2 separate regions of the Homo sapiens genome follow, and region 2 is linked to region 1. Evidence: promoter capture Hi-C in 16 types of primary human blood cells and fetal thymus (Javierre and others, 2016). All regions are on one chromosome and are shown on one strand. The core of a region is centred on a gene start or on the middle of the fragment in contact, and the rest is flanking DNA. Distances in the headings are between cores, read along the strand shown.

Evidence for each region. The method cuts DNA at HindIII sites, captures the fragments that hold promoters and counts their contacts. A CHiCAGO score of 5 or more calls a contact.
Region 2: a fragment that was not itself captured here is called in contact with the fragment with the promoter of OSGEPL1-AS1 in region 1 in 1 of 17 cell types (total B cells); the score reaches 7.2 in total B cells.

What each region holds. Positions count from the first base shown.
Region 1 is chr2:189,761,050-189,764,734 of GRCh38, reverse strand. OSGEPL1-AS1 (OSGEPL1 antisense RNA 1) reads right to left here and starts at 1,955. Exons shown (of 2, transcript NR_102429.1): 1 at 1,743-1,955. OSGEPL1 (O-sialoglycoprotein endopeptidase like 1) reads left to right here and starts at 1,943. Exons shown (of 9, transcript NM_022353.3): 1 at 1,943-2,050; 2 at 3,075-3,315. The coding sequence starts at 3,095. It also overlaps a transcript of ANKAR not described here and a transcript of ORMDL1 not described here. RefSeq lists enhancers at 1,268-2,014, 2,301-2,460. The HindIII fragment of the contact is 3,776 bases long and covers 1,868-3,685 here.
Region 2 is chr2:190,876,976-190,880,224 of GRCh38, reverse strand. It overlaps LOC124906110 (a long non-coding RNA gene), which reads left to right. Exons shown (of 2, transcript XR_007087791.1): 2 at 1-3,249. Among named protein-coding and RNA genes, the nearest start is that of GLS, 2.2 kb to the left of the region's middle. RefSeq lists an enhancer at 1-16. The HindIII fragment of the contact is 2,674 bases long and covers 1-2,588 here.

The sequences.
Region 1 (3,685 bases), core at 706-3,205:
TATCTAGATTCAGCTGGAACTCTCGATTTATGTTGAACTTACATAGGCCATATTTTTTGAGAATGCCCATGAGTGGCATTCTAACTATCTGCATAAAAGTACAGACAGGCCTCAGAGAGCATACATGCCTTTCCCCCAATAACCCTCTCCTATGTTACAATAGAGAACATAAAAAATGTATATCTTTGCTAAATACATGGGACTTGTATAAGTGCCACTTTACATATATTCGGTCAAGGGAAAGATAAAATTCCATACTAATGTGCCCTAGAGTTCTCCTGTTTCACATAATAACAGCATTCGGACTCAACACTGGCCAAGAGTGCCTAGACGAGGAATCTACCAATGATAGCACACACAATAGGATCTTGCTTGTCTTGACAGCACAGAAGAGCATTGGGATATACTTGCTGAACATAATTGGAATTGTAAGAAAAATAATACCTGATGTGAAAGGTTTTATGTTCAAACTGGATTCCAGTGTATAACAGAAATAAGCTCTGACCTCTCTAACCGTATGACTAATTTTTCTTAACTTTTAGGTTTTAATTTTTCTTTTTTCCCTTGTTTAGGCCAACAGTGCACCCTAGAGAAAATGTGAGTTATTTTCTCTTCTAGCAGTTAAGAAAACAGACTCCAGTGCCAGATGTCCTGACTTCTAATCCTAGCTTTGCTTTTCCTAGTTGTGTGACCTCCAAAGCACCCAAACTCTGTGGCCCAGTTGCCTGTAAAATGAGGACAGAAACTATTTCATGGGATTTTGAAAGAAATTAATCTACAGCAGGTGCCTGGTACATAGTGCCACTTTATCATTATTGTTACACATAAATGAAATTTTTGAAAAACATAAGTTCCAAATAAAAAACCTCAACCATATTCTGGTAATTATTTACTTATTTATCTGTATCCACCTCTAGACTGTACTCTGTGGCTTCCCAACATGTTGTTATGGGATTTACTCATCTTTTATACCCAGAGCTTCACAACGTGCAAAGTGCAGGTATATATGCCAGCCCTGTACAACAGTGGATTCTAAGGTCCTTGCTTACTAAAATCTTAAATACCAGCAGGGGAAAAGCCTGACTCTTGGAATAAATCTGTCCAATGTTCAAAACAAAGTTCACAAACCAATAAAAGAAAAAAAAAAAAAAAAGCAGGTGCAAGACTTTGAAAACATACCATGCTGAATTTCATGTACATAGTAAGGAAGGACAACATAATGCATTATGAAAATAGGATGGTTTAAGGCAACTGAATATTTACCACAGCCTTTTTTTTTTTTTTTTTTTTTTTTTTGAGACAGAGTCTCGCTCTGTAGCTCAGGCTGGAGTGCAGTGGCGCGATCTCGGCTCACTGCTACCTCCGCCTCCCGGGTCCCAGTTCAAGCAGTTCTCCTGCCTCAGTCTCCCGATTTTTTTTTTTTTTAATTGTAAAAATAAGCCAGCCCCTTTCTTCCTAGTGAAGTGGGAGAAACGGTTTACACTGTCCGATGAGAAACACTTCCGTTCTTTGGTAACCCTGCTAGGGGGCGCCGCTAGATTCCATCCTATTTCTCCGATGAAAGTATCAGGTACCTCACCCCTAAGTTTAGATTTGATGATAGTTCCCTTAAAAATGAATGACGAATAATCTACCCCATCCTTTTCTCACAGTAGCAACCAAATTCCAGCCAAGGGCAAAAAAAAAATTTCTTTTTAATGTAGCTTAGTGTTTGGAACTTGATGTTGTGTAGTCAGACAAACCTGTATTCGGCCTCCGCTGGATCAGTCACTAGCTGTGTAATTTTACAGAACTCTCATCACCTGCAAATCTGGGGGAAATGCAGGTGCGCACAGAGAGCGTTTTGGGCAAAGACGGCCTTTAAGCTTTTCTTCACTAAGCATGCCGCTCGCTAGCGGAACAGCAGCCAGCTCTGGACGGGACCTTGCACAGTTCCGATGACATCACTTCCGGGCGCCAGGTTCGGGCTTTCTCCTGCAGCGATAAGGGCAGTCGACAGTCTTTAGTAGGGAAAGGAGACAAGTGCTAGCTACTGCCGCCCAAGTGGAAGGTGGGTGAAATTGCTCACTCTTCACCCCACTGACGCTTTTGCGCACCTGGAAAAGCGGTTCCAGTTTGCGCCCGTCGCCGCCTTACAGCCGACAGGAGACCAGCGCTACCCAAGTCACGTGGGTTCAGCCTGCAGCTTTCTTGGCCCGAAAGGGTAGTGCTTCGTACAATCCTCCTTGTCCAGATTTTGTTAATGCAAATCTAATTCCTCTAGGTTGTGTCTGTCTGGGCTGCACTGCCCGCAACTGCCTTCTGCAAATAGGTCGCTCATCTCTAATCCCTGGGATGCCGTGTCCCTTTAGTGTGGTGGAGAAAGGCCCTGCTTTAACACCCAGAAAGTTTTAGAACGGATGATCTGGGGGCATAAAATTAGGTGCTTCGCAGTGTGAAAATACTAGTGTGCTTTAGTGATGGGCTGCTATTATTTTGGGGGAAAAGGATTTGGGAAGATCCTTGTTATGACAAAACCTGTAGCAAAAAGTGGAGATTTAATTCCAAAGATTGCAATTAAGGATAAAATAGGTGTTAGGTTGCAGTTGGCGTGTGTGTGTTTATGTTAACTCTTGTTTTTGAACCAAATGATCCAGTTTTATTTTGAAAGATGTTTTTAGGAGATGGAATACATTAACAGTATTTTTATCTGTTCCATCTGCCTTTGTTGTTTGATTCTTTTTAGAAAATCCACATTTTGTCTTAATTTTAGCTGTCAAAAAATAAATAGCACTTTTCAGAGGACTCTATCAATTATTGTACTTTATATTAGCTGTCTTAATAGTAAGTCTTTTGGTAGGAACAGCATGCAAGTAATAATAATACTAAAAAATTTTATATCTGACCCCTGTTTTCCCCCTTGGAGAACATTATATTCATTCATAATATTATTTATATTCCCATGTTGCTATAGCCTTTACAAACTTTTGGTGACTTTTACAAACTTTCCTGTAATTCTGTAAAACTATATATTGAAAAATAAGCTGGCTAATGTCAGTTGCAAATAATAAGTTGTTTCTGTAATTCTTTTTCAGGAATTATCTATAGAGTAAGTATGCTAATCTTGACTAAGACTGCAGGAGTTTTTTTTAAACCATCAAAAAGGAAAGTTTATGAATTTTTAAGAAGTTTTAATTTTCATCCTGGAACACTATTTCTTCATAAAATAGTATTGGGAATTGAAACTAGTTGTGATGATACAGCAGCTGCTGTGGTGGATGAAACTGGAAATGTGTTGGGAGAAGCAATACATTCCCAAACTGAAGTTCATTTAAAGTAAGTAGACATTATCTTAGTCATTTCCACTTTTTTGGAAAAAGTAAAATCATTCTTTTGTATTTGTCATATATAAAAGTTTTCAGGAGCTACTGTCTTATTCCTTTTTGCAAACACTTTTAATAACTGCTATAGAAAACCTCAAACACTTCATCCTGGCTTTTAAGGGTCTTCACAATAAGGTCCCAACCTTAACTAATCCTGTTGCCAAAAGAAACTGAGCTCATTCCCAGCTTCCGTATTTATTGATTTTCCTTCAGTAATGCATTCCTTCTTTTCTCCACTTCTATGTTTCATGGTCTCAGCTGAAGTCCTAGGAAAACTGTTAGTCATTGAAAAAAAAAATCCTATTCATATTTATACATATAAC
Region 2 (3,249 bases), core at 2-2,501, 1.1 Mb before region 1:
AAAATCCTTTCAGCTATGCGACTTAAGCCATGGGAGGGTGGAGGTGGAGGGAGGGCGACGAGTGGCGAGGCGGGGTGGGGGGGTTGCGGAATCCAGAATACGACAGCTTTCTTTTTTAAAAATTATTTTTTTTAAATGTACACCGATACTTCAAAAATAGTTTTGAATAGCAATGATTCCGTTAACGCTATTTGCTTGAAAGCAAAACTGTAGATACTTTTCTATTTTAAAAACTGCTTCACTGTTTTAAAATAGAAGCGTTGGAATACGGGTTCTCTAAGTTATTTCAGCATCACTTTATCCATTTATCCTTTTGGACCTGTGGAAAAACAGCCAAGAACCTGATAAACTGAGTTATTCCCTGAGGCTACATACACATTACATTCCAGGACAAAAAAATGTTTTTAGACTATTTCCTGAAACAATTAGGTTTAAATGGAGTAGATCCACAGAGTTTAATAAGATGTTTTGGGGGTTGGTGTGTTGTTACTGTGTTGTTGTGTGTGTTCGTTTTGAGAAAGGGTCTCACTCTGTCGCCCAGGCTGAAGTGCAGTGGCGCGATCACGGCTTACTGCAGCCTTGAACTCAGGGGCCCCGGTGATCCTCCCACCTCAGCCAGCACCTGCTTTTTTTTTTTTTTTTTTTTGTATTTTTGGTAGAGACGGGGTTTCGCCAGGTTGCCCAGGCTGGTTTCGAGGGATCTGCACCCCCTGGGCCTCCCAAATTGCTGGGATTACAGGCGTGAGCCACCACGCCCGGCCTAATGAGGTGATTTTTATGAAACTAGAAGGGTGTATGTCAGGTGCATCATTAATTGATAACCGGATTTAGTAATCTAGTGAACTGTAAAATATTTCAATAGATTAATAATTAGGAAATCTGGCTGTACCTACAGGTTATGTGACCTTTGGCATGTTACAGCCTTGCCGTGTTTTAAGTTTTTTTTTTCTATCTGCTCTTTAACCAGAAGAACATGGAAAAAACTATCATGTGTAAAACATAGTCACCTTTTTTATTTAAAAAAAAAAAAGCAGGACAATGGGAAAGTACTTAGATAGCTTTTATTACTAATGTTACTTGTCCAAAAATGTTGATGAATCAAAGTAATGATATATTCAGGAATAGAGACATCAAGTTTCAGAGGAAAGGTAACAAATATTACCCCTGCCTAACCCTGACTTGTTAATGACTTGCAGACTTTAATATTGTCCAATATATTAGCTGCAATTAGTTATCAATTTTAACTGCCTCTTTTTTCTCAACAACACAAAGCAACTGACAATCCAGTTACTGTTTTCCTCTCAGTTTCTCCCTTAATTTCTCTGAGTTTCTTATGAAAATTGTTTTAGATATTTAAAGGTTTAAAGGCTTTATAGTTCACTTAACAAATAAGAAAGCTAACCTAGTAACAGATTATTTTCTAGAGTTTCTAGTTTCTAGAGTTTTATTTTCTGGTAGTTTCCAGACTTTCTGCTTTTGGTGAGAATGGATAGATATTACTCCCAAAATTTGGAAGAATTGAGTCCACTGAAATTTAACCCCTTGTTTGAGAAGGCTAATGAAAAGGTTATAGACAGCAAAGAAACTATTATAAATAGAATAAAAATGTGACTCAATACTTTCATTTGATTCTTTTCTTCATCTTATATAATTTTTTAATCTTTAAAGATATTTTTATCTACAACTTTGTAACCATTACACAACTTTGAAGTTTCAGTTATGTTAAATTGAATTATATCATTACATAAACTCATGTAATCATCATGTAAAAAGTATAAAAACATTTGTATACATACAATAAGTAGTCCACCAAAATATCTACAAATAGAAAAATGCTCTCCACATTAACTATGGTTGGGTTGTCAGATCTACTCTTCGACTTCCTTTTTGCTCCTAAGTGCAGCTACACTACAAAGAGTTGCTGTCCCATAGCCATCATCAGGTAATCAGCCATCAAAAGGAATAATTGGAATTTGTGCACTTTGTGTCTGTTCTAACTTGAAGAAAGGTTCCTGTGCTTCTATGTTCCTGAGCTTCTTTGTTCTGTCGAAGATTACAAAAGGCTAATGTTTCAAGATCATAATAAAATCCATATATAGGCCGGGCGCGGTGGACTCACACCTGTAATCCCAGCACTTTGGGAGGCTGAGGCGAGCAGATCACAAGGTCAGGAGATTGAGACCATCCTGGCTAACACGGTTAAACCCCATCTCTACTAAAAATACAACGATTAGCTGGGCGTGGTGGCACACACCTGTAATCCCAGCTACTTGGGAGGCTGAGGCAGGAGAATCACTCAAACCTGGGAGGCCGAGGTTACAGTGAGCCAAGATCGCACCACTGCACTCCAGCCTGGCAACAGAGCGATACTACATCTCAAAAAATAAAATAAAATAAGATAAAATAATATATATATATAGAAATTCCAGATTGCGCCTTCACAAAAACTAGTAGATTATTTGTTGACCTAGAACTAAAAAGAAAGTAATTTTCCTTTGACTAACAGCTTAAAAGAATTGCCTAAGCCTTTTTTTGAAATTCTTCTGTTTGGAGAATAGAGTAAGGTTCAGGAAGCCTCTAAACAAGCTTCTGCTACTACTTCCCTTTCTTCTGTTGGTTTCCTGCTTTAACTGGCCAAATTCCTAGCCTCACTGATAAGCCCTGCCAAACATGGCTTATTTTTCCAATACTGAATATAGATGTGTACCAAAGTAAGTATGGTAAATCCCTCATCTATAAAAAGGGGATAATATGGCCAGGCAAGGTGGCTCACGCCTGTAATCCCAGCACTTTGGGAGGCCGAAGCAGGTGGATCACCTGAGGTCAGGAGTTCAAGACCAGCCTGGCCAACATGGTGAAACCCCATCTCTACTAGAAATTCAAAAAATTAGCCAGGCATGGTGGTGCATGCCTGTAATCCCAGCTACTCGGGAGGCTGAGGCAGGAGAATTGCTTGAACCTGGGAGGCAGAGGTTGCAGTGAGCCGAGATCTAGCCATTGCACTCCAGCCTGGGCTATGAGAGAGCAAGACTCCATCTCAAAAAAACAAAGGGGGGCGGATAATATTGGTACTTATAGGGTTGTTGTGTGGAATAAATAAACAACACATATAAAGCACCCAGAATAATGACAGTAGCACTCTGTAAGTGTTATAGCTGTTATTATCAAACCATAGGTGAATAAATTTTGACATGCAATGTGATCAGTTTTTACACTTATTGTTGAAAAGCCAAACAATTGTTTTAAACC